Regions from separate parts of the Homo sapiens genome. Here region 1 is linked to region 2. The links are contacts of gene promoters, found by promoter capture Hi-C in blood cells and fetal thymus (Javierre and others, 2016). All regions are on one chromosome and are shown on one strand. The core of a region is centred on a gene start or on the middle of the fragment in contact, and the rest is flanking DNA. Distances in the headings are between cores, read along the strand shown. Region 1 has its middle 43 kb from the start of TGILR. Region 2 holds the start of PXDC1 (PX domain containing 1).

Region 1 (4,774 bases), core at 1,151-3,650, 200 kb after region 2:
TTTAAGTCTTTAATCCATCTTGAGTTGATTTTTTTATATGGTGTAAGGAAGGGGTCCAGTTTCAATCTTTTGCATATGGTTAGCAAGTTATCCCAGCACAATGTATGGAATAGAGAATCCTTTCCTCACTGCTTGTTTTTGTTTGCTTTGTCAAAGATCAGATGGTTGTAGGTGTGCAGCCTGCAGCCTTATTTCTGGGCTTTCTATTCTGCTCCATTGGTCTATGTATCTGTGTTTGTACCAATATACCATGCTGTTTTGGTTGCTGTAGCCCTGTAGTATAGTTGAAGTCAGGTAGCATGATACCTTCAGCTTTGTTTCTTTTTTTTCTTTTTTCTTTTTTTTTTTTTTTTTTTTTTTTTTTTTTTTTTTTTTTGCTTCAGATTGCCTTAGCTATTTGGGCTCTTTTTTGGTTCCATATGAATTTTAAAAGTTTTTTCTAGTTCTTTGAAGAATGTCATTGGTAGTTTGATAGGAATAGCAATGAATCTATAAATTGCTTTGGGCAGTATGGCCATTTTAATGATATTGATTCTTCCTATCCATGAGCATAGAATGTTGTTCCATTTGTTTGTGTCATCTCTGACTTCTTTGAGAAGCATTTTGTAGTTCTCCTTATAGAGCTCTTTCACCTCCCTGGTTAGCTGCCTTCCTAGGTATTTTTTGTGTGTGTGCCAATTGCGAATGGGATTGCATTCCTGATTTGGCTGTTGGCTTGACTGTTGTTACTGTATAGGAATGCTAGTGACTTTAGTACATGGATTTTGTATTCTGAGACTTTGTTGAAGTTGTTTATCAGCTTAAGGAGTTTTTGGGCTGAGACTATAGGGTTTTCTAGATATAGAATCATGTCATCTGCAAACAGGGACAGTTTGACTTCTCTTCCGATTTGGATGCCCTTTCTTTCTTTCTCTTGCCTGGTTGCTCTGGCTTGTTCTTCCAATACAATGTTGAATAGGAGTGGTGAGAGCGGGCATCCTTCTCTTATGCCAGTTCTCGAGGGGAATGATTCCAGCTTTTCCCCATTCAGTATGATGTTGTCTGTAGGTTTATCATGGATGGCTCTTATTATTTTGAGATATGTTCCTTCAATACCTCGTTTATTGAGTTTTTGACATGAAAGGGTATTGAATTTTATCAAAAGCCTTTTCTGCATATATTGAGATAATCATGTGGTTTTTGTCTTTAGTTCTGTTTATGAGATAAGTCACATTTATTGATTTGAGTATGTTAAATCAACCTTTTACCCCAGGGATAAACCCTACTTGATCGTGATGAATAAGCTTCTTGATGTGCTGTTGGATTTGGTTTGCCTGCATTTTGTTGAGGATTTTTGCATGGATGTTCATCAAGAATACTGGCCTTAAGCTTTATTTTTTTGTGGTGTCTCTGCCAGGTTTTGGTGTCAGAATAATGCTAGCCTCATAGAAAAAGTGAGGGAGGAGTCTCTCCTCAATTTTTTTGAATAGTTTCAGTAGGAATGATACCGCTTCTTCTTATACATCTGGTAGTATCTGGCTGTGAATCTATCTTGGACTGGCCTTTTTGTAGTCAGTAGGCTATTTATTACTGATTTAATTTCAGAGTCTGTTCAGGGATTCAATTTCTTCCTGCTTTCGTCTTGGGAGGGTATATGTGTCCAGGAATTTATCCATTTATTCTAGATTTTCTAGTTTGTATGCATAGAGGTGATAAACAGGAATTCTTAATTTGAATGTAGTCCAATTCGCCAATCTCTTTCTTTATAAGTACTGTTTTTTTTTGGTGATCTGTTTAAGAAATCTTCCTCTAACTTGATATTATAAAAATAATGTATCTTCTCTTATGTGCTATTTGTTAAACATTCATATTCTTTTTTTTTTTTTTTTTTTTTTTTTTTTTTTTGAGATGGAGTCTCTGTCTCCCAGGCTGGAGTGCAGTGGTGCAATCTTGGCTGACTGCAATCTCCACTTCCATGGTTCAAGCAATTCTTGTACCTCAGCCTTCTGAGTAACTGAGGCCACAGATACGCCACCACACTCCCCTAATTTTTGTATTTTTAGTAGAGAAAGAGTTTTGCCATGTTGGACAGGCTGGTCTCAAACTACTGGACTCAAGCAATCTGCCTGCTTCTGCCTCCCAAAGTTTTGGGATTACAGGCATGAGCCACTGTGGCCCACCTAAACATTTATTTTTAAAGTTACTTTCTGAAATTGATTGTTGTAGATGGTATATGTTCCAAGGTTTTCTTTTTTTTATATAGTTGTTCAAATGACTTTGCACCATTACTTTTTTAAATGTATTTTTTTCACTAGTCTACCATACTTTCTTTTTTCTTTTTCTTTTTTTTTTTTTTTTTTTTTTTTAGCCAGAATGTTGCTCTTATTGCCCAGGCTGGAGTGCAATGGCACGATCTTGGCTAACTGCAACCTCCACCTCCTGGGTTCAAGTGATTCTCCTGCCTCAGCCTCCCGAGTAGCTGGGATTACAGGTGCGTGCCACCACGCCTGGCTAATTTTTTGTATTTTTAGTAGAGACGGGGTTTCACCATGTTGGCCATGCTAGTCTCGAACTCCTGACCTCCGATGATCCACCCGCTTTGGCCTCCCAAAGTGCTGGGCTTACAGGCATGAGCCACCGTGCCCGGCTTACAATACTTTTTTTTTTTTTTTTTGAGACAGAGTATCACTCTGTCGCCTAGGCTGGGGTGCAGTGGCGCGATCTCGACTCACTGCAATATCTGCTTCCCGGGTTCAAGCAATTTTCCTGCCTCAGCCTTTTGAGAAGCTGGGATTGCAGGCGCCCACCACCATGCCCGTCTAATTTTTGTGTCTTTTAGTAGGGATGAGTTTTCACCATGTTGGCCAGGCTGGTCTTGAACTCCTGACCTCACGTGATCAGCCCACCTCAGCCTCTCAAAGTGCTGGGATTACAGGCATGAGCCACCGGCCAATACTTTCTTTGTCATAGATCACATACCTACATATGTGTGGCTCTGTTTTTGGACTTTGATTTTTCCATTGCTCTCTTTTCTATTCTTGTTTCAATGTTACTGTGTTAATTCTTGTGGCTTTATATTAAGTCTTAGTTTCTCTCGAGTGCTTTATTTTTTAGTTCTTTAAGGATGTCTTGGCTTTTCTTGGCCTTTTGCGTCTTGCATAAATTTTAGAATCAGGTTGCTAATTTGCTGAGAGTAGCAAGAAGGAGTGCCCCATTCATGGCCTTGTACTTTGAGGATTTTAATGGGTTGCAAGGAACTCATTTTGTGAGCAGCGATGAATCTGCTTCAGATAAAGTAAATCAGAGCTGGAGGTAGGGCAGGGTTCTTCATGCTAGCCTGGGGCTGCATAACTCAATGAACACTGGCTGAGGCAACAATGGGTCTTTTGTGATGAAACTGGTACCTACTCAGGCTATGGGGCCTGAGGTTTCATCATACATCATTGGGTTTATTAAAGCTTAAAAGTGATCTAATAATTAACATGCCAGCTACTAGTTATTTGTTGAGTTTTTTTCCTTTTTAGTCAGGGAAAATGAGAGTGAGGGAAAAGGAAAAGGAAGCAACCCTAAGGGGCAACAAGACCATTAATTATTACAAATATCAATAGGACACAAATGACCCTTTGTCTCTCAGGCTGGAGTGCGGTGGCGCGATCACAGCTCACTGCAGCCTCGACTTCCCAGTCTCAAATGATCCTCCTACCTCAGCCTCCTGAGTAGCTGGGACCACAGGTGCACATCATTATGCCCTACCAATTTTTAAATTTGTTATAGAGATGAGGTCTCCCTATGTTTGCCAGGCTGGTCTTGAACTCCTGGCCTCAAGTGATCTCCTGCCTTGGCCTCCCAAAGTGCTGAGATTACAGGCATGAGCCACTACACCTGACCCAAATGGGTAATTTAGTTGCATAAGGTCTTTCCTTCATAATCTAATTAGAAAACTTTGGGGCAGGACTCCAAGGCTTACTTTTGACCCTCATTCCACTCCTGCCCTACTCTTCATTGTTCTAAAAAATGGAAAAACAGGTTGATTACATATACTATTTAAGTTCCATGAAAGCAAGAAATGTGTCTATCTGGTTCACTGATGTATCTCCAGGGCTTAGAACAGTGCCCGGTGCATAGTTGATTCTCAATAAATATCAATGGAATAAATAAAATGTTCCACATTGCCTTGCTTCAAACTTCTAAAAAAATTAATAATAGCTTCTAACTAACCGCGACTTCTGGTAAACTTCATACCAGTTGCCCTTGTGTTACGTATTTGTTTTTAAAACAGCAATTCATTTATCTAGGTTTATGAAAAAATGAAAATAAACACTATGTTGTGGGGGCCCACTTGTTCAGTGTCCAGTGATATCAAACAACCTTAAATTCTAACCATAAATTATTTTGATAATATGTGTAAACATTCTGTTAGCCAAATGTGTCTATTAATCCAGGCTTTGCAGGCTTAACCCAAACAATTTGAGCAGGTGAAAGAAACAAGCCAACTAGACAGACTTCTCAATACTGAGGCAAGGACATGCTTCAGAGACGTAGATCACAGGGTTGAAGGGCACCCTCCTAGGAAACACCTCCCACCCCACCTTTTCAGGCATCAGTTTCTGCCTCTGTTGATTCAGAGAAGAGTTCCCAGTGGTGTGACTCAGACAGGCCCTCTGAGAAAGTAGACTGTGCCTTCTCACTGTCCAGGCTCCAGGAGGAGGTGCTGGGCCCAAGGGCAGCCCATTTAGAGCTGAGACCCTATCTCAGAAGAGGAACTGATGTGAGATCTCAACTCAGCAAGAAGGAG
Region 2 (4,348 bases), core at 333-2,832:
AACTAAGCTAATTATCCACGTAATTCTCACACTGGGGTTGGGGCCATCGCCAGGGGAAAGCACAGGTTATCTCAAGAACGCAGCCAGATAGGAGGCTGGGGAGACTTGGACGGGCCACCTTCTGCTTCAGTAACTTGGCCCCAAGCTTTCAGGAGGTCTCTGCTTAGAGGAGGACTGCAGAAAAGAAGGCTGCTGGGCCACTGTCCCAATGTTCCGAGCTACAGGTGGTCACCCATGGAGGGGGGTGGGACCTGCTCGGAAGTCCTCCAGTCTTCCCGCCCCTTCTCCCCTCCCGGCCCTCCCAGGCGGCCCCTCTCCTCGGCCTGCCCCCTCCACCCCGCAATTCTTCCCGTCTCAATTCCAGTCCCTCTCTCTTGCGTCCTCCCGGCTTCCACCCCCTCAGCCTGGCCTCCAAAAGAAAGATCGGGCAGAGCGGTAGGAAAAGGGAAGCCACCGCGGTTTCTGAAAACAAGAATTCCCGCGAGCCAGGACGGTCACGAGGCCGGGGAGGAGGCGGCGCAGCTGATCAAACGCGAATGGGGACCAGCCCTGGCGGGGGTGCGGGGGGGCCCTGGCTGTCCGCGGCAGCCGCGGGCGGGGCGGCCGCTCCGAGGAGGGACGGAAGGGCTGCGTGGCACCTCGCGCTCGAAGACCAGGGGCGCGCCCTCCGCGGGGAGAACTCGGGGCGGCGGCCAGACCCGACGCGACCCCCGGCTCGGACCCTGCAGTTAACTGCTCCCAGACGCTTTCCCAGTGCGCCCGCCCGCCGGCCCTCGGGAGGTACCGGGCAGGGGGCTAGGGCCGGGCCGACCCTGTGAGCCGCTCAGCCCCGGGCGCCCCCGCCCTCCTCGGAAGTGACTCGTCCTCAGGGAGAGTCCGGCGCCCGCCCTGCCGGCCTCGGCCCCTTTCCCGCCCCATTTGGCTCCTCCGCCGGGGGCGCCCCCAGGCTGGGCAGGCTGGCTCCCCGTCCCCCTAACCCCGCCGCCCGGGCACCCCTCGTCTGCGGGCGCGGGGTCCAAGTGTCCCCTGTCCAGGGCGGGCAGAAAGGAGAAGTCGCAATCTCGGTTGAAGTCTCTTCCCCGCCTCCTTCGTGCACTTCAAGGCTGCCTCGGCCCCGCGCCCCTCCCGCGTCCCCGGCCCCGCACCTTGCCGCAGCGGCCCCTGCGCCAGTTCGGACCGGTCCTCGGGAAAGGCGTCGCGCAGGCGCTGCCACAGGCGGCCCAGGTCCGCCAGGCTGCGGTGCAGGTAGAGCACGCTGCGGTCCGACCACTCCGTGCGGATCTCGAAGAACTCCTCTTCGTCGCCGCGCCGGCTGACGATGAGCCTGCGGATGCCGTTCACCCAGCAGCCGCGCACGAACATGTTCACGAGCGACGTGCCCTCAAACACCGCCGAGGCCATGTCGCACGCATGCCCCCGCCAAGGGCTCCCCAGCCCCGCCGCCCGCCCGCCCGCAGGAGGCGCGCCCCGGCCGGGGTCGTCCCGGGTCTGTCCGTGGCCGGGGTCGTCCGGGGTCGGCCCGTCACTCCAAGGAGGCTGCGTATGGCCCGCGTTCGGGGCAGCGGGGCGGCGCGGCGGCGAGTGGCTCGGGCCGGCCGGGCGCGGCTTTATAAGGCGCTTCCCATCGCGGGCGGCGCGGTAGTCGACGTCGAGGTTAGGCCGCGTCCGCCTCCCGCCCGCCTCCCGCGGAACGGGCGCCGCGGGCCGCTCTGGAAAGGAAGAGGTCCGGCTGGCCGCGCCCCCGCCGCCTCCGCAGAGACCGCGCTGCCGCGGCCACGAGAACCCCCGGAGCCGGGAGCCGGGCCGAGTCCCAAGCGCTCGCCCCCGCCTCGCGCCCCCCGCGCCTCCTCCCTCGCGGCCCCGGAGCCGCAGGTCGGTGACTGGACCAGCCGGGAAGGGAGGCGGGGCGGGCCCTGCTTGCCAGGCGCTCGGCGCAGACTTTTTTCTCTTTCCGTTTCGCGATCCTCGGGACCTCCCAGGGCTAGGAGCTGCGCGCCCCACCCGGCCCGCGAGGGGATGGCAACTACCCGGGGTCCGGAGGCGGGGCTGCGAGTGTCGGGGCGGGGGGCGCGGGCCGGGTCGAGCACCGCCCCGACGAGGGCCCAGGCCAGTCCGGCCCGCCCCGGGTTCCCTCCGTGCCTCAGGTCCCCTCCGTGCCCCGCGTCCTCCCGCGCATTCCGGTCATGCCTCAGCCGCGCCAAGGCCTGGGACACGGCCGGACAGACCGCGGGGCAGCCCTCGGAGAAGTGGGAAGAGGGGAGAAAACAGTGGCGAAAAGAAGGTCTCCTGGGAAGGAGCGCCCTGGGAAGCTGGACGCGGTGGGTGCTCTTGAGGGGCCTCAGGAGTGGACTTGGGGAAACCGCCCGCCCTGAAAACTGACTCAGCGGCGCGTTACTGAGGCCGTTCCTAGTTGGAAGAGAATTAATAGCACTTGTTTGAGAATTACAAGTTAGTTCCAGAAATGAATCGAGTGACCTCACAGCCCGTAGGCAGGGGTGGGAGAGCCAGGGTGAGCCCCTCACCTCACCCCGCCCCCGCCCCGGCAGCGCTCTGGAAAGCCTCAAAGCCCAGCGCTGCGCGGAAATGTTAGAGGCCCAAGGCAGGTGGCCTGTCTGGACTCAGACCCGACCCAGATGTCCCCCCAGGTCCCTACCACTCAGTCCCACCTGCCTCGACTCAGTCCCGACCCAGATGACCACCCCCCCCCCGCCCCCACCACGACCAACTTTTATTCCGACTGCGCCAGTGACTTGCAGATAGCATAGCTTCAAATTTCCTCACCTGGTCTGGGGCGGTGAACAGGTCAAGATGGAGAGTGTCAAGAGAGACTTTTGCTTTGTCTATGATGTTTTTATATACACTTGCTAATTAAATGAACGCATATGTTTCCTGTGTAATTTTGTATAGGGGAATAGGGGCCGTGGGAACTGGAAGTAAACAGCCAGTGTGCCAGCAGCTCTTGACTCTAGGTGGTGGGAATAAGTGCCGTTGTAACCACAGTACCAGCCCAAACGGGGCTTACTCTGTTTGTAACAATGTTGAGTTACCTTGCAGGTATAACAGAGCCAAAAACTCTTAAGTCACAAAGCCCAGGCATGCACCATAGAAAAAGATTTGATCTCTAACAAACATCCAGAACCAACTATTCGTCTCCTTGGAACGAAGAAGACTGGGACATGACTGGAACCCGAACATTCGAACTCTCAGAAGGGAAGGGTCTCTTGGCCCAGAAGATAGGGGCTAAAATCCACCTCAACATACCGTACCATAAATGGCCAAATTTGAAGGCCTTCAAACAGATCCTGCCCAGCCAACATTTCTAAGTCCTTTCCTTTGCCCTCTGCTTCCTTAGAACTTGCCCCAGACCCCAAATCAGGGAGGAAGATTTGAACCTGCCTCCTGTCTCCTTGCTGGCTGGTCTTGCAATAAAGTCTTTCTTTTCTCAAAGGCAGTACCATGGTATTGCTTCCGTGTACATTGAGCAGTGAGCCTGAGGCAGGAAAATAGGGTCAGGAGGCAGGGAACATAAGGCCAATTCACACTTCGGCTGTAACAGGAAATATCCACTCCATAGGGCGTATGCTGTAAGTGACTTTGTAACTTTACTTCATCCTCTGCATTTACGTAGAGGGTAAGTGAAGTAAACAATGGAATCATCTAGGGGATATTTAAACTTCCAAAAATTCTGTAACGGGGCCTTTGAGCCCCTATGTTCGGGCCGCTCCCACACTGTGGAATGTAATTTCGTTTTCAATAAATCCCTTCATTCCTTCCTTGCTTTGTTTGTGCGTTTTGTCCAATTCTTTGTTCAAGATGCCAAGAACCTGGACATCCTCCACCGGTGACAAGCCCATTTGCTTAATAAGATTATTATTTTCTTCTCAGTATTTTTCTGTTACTTATTTTCTGAAAGTGCCAGGAAGAGGAGGGCAGGCAGGACCACCCCAAAACAGGCCACCTGTGGTATCATGGTGACCTCTAACCCCAGCCCCCAAGAATATGAAAGTGATGACGACTCTTATGAAGTGTTGGATTTAACTGAGTATGCAAGAAGACATCAGCGGTGGAATTGAGTGTTTGGCCCCAGTTGGAGACCTATGGTGTTACAGAGAAATACTCAGTAGCTACCCAGATTGGAATGTGTGGCGTGACAGGCTGGTATGCAGGATTTTTGCTCCCAAAAGTTGGGAAGGTTGCAGCAACTGCAGTGACTTCCAGATTGACTGGAAGAGAATTGAAAGAGACGTACATAAAGCAAAAAGACATACTAAGGCCCGGGCGTGGTGGCTCATGTCTGTAATCCCAGCACTTTGGGAGGCCGAGGCGTGTGGATCACCAAGTCAGGAGA

What was found. Contacts are between HindIII fragments. The CHiCAGO score rates a contact against its expected background, and 5 or more counts as called.
Region 1: a contact is called between a fragment that was not itself captured here and the fragment with the promoter of PXDC1 in region 2, in 2 of 17 cell types (total CD8 T cells and megakaryocytes). The highest score is 5.4, in total CD8 T cells.

What each region holds. Positions count from the first base shown.
Region 1 is chr6:3,952,901-3,957,674 of GRCh38, forward strand. No RefSeq gene overlaps it. Among named protein-coding and RNA genes, the nearest start is that of TGILR, 43 kb to the left of the region's middle. The HindIII fragment of the contact is 2,069 bases long and covers 1,367-3,435 here.
Region 2 is chr6:3,750,131-3,754,478 of GRCh38, forward strand. It overlaps PXDC1 (PX domain containing 1), which reads right to left and starts at 1,583. Exons shown (of 5, transcript NM_183373.4): 1 at 1,146-1,583. The coding sequence starts at 1,401. RefSeq lists silencers at 807-886, 1,637-1,876, 1,927-2,096. The HindIII fragment of the contact is 5,359 bases long and covers 144-4,348 here.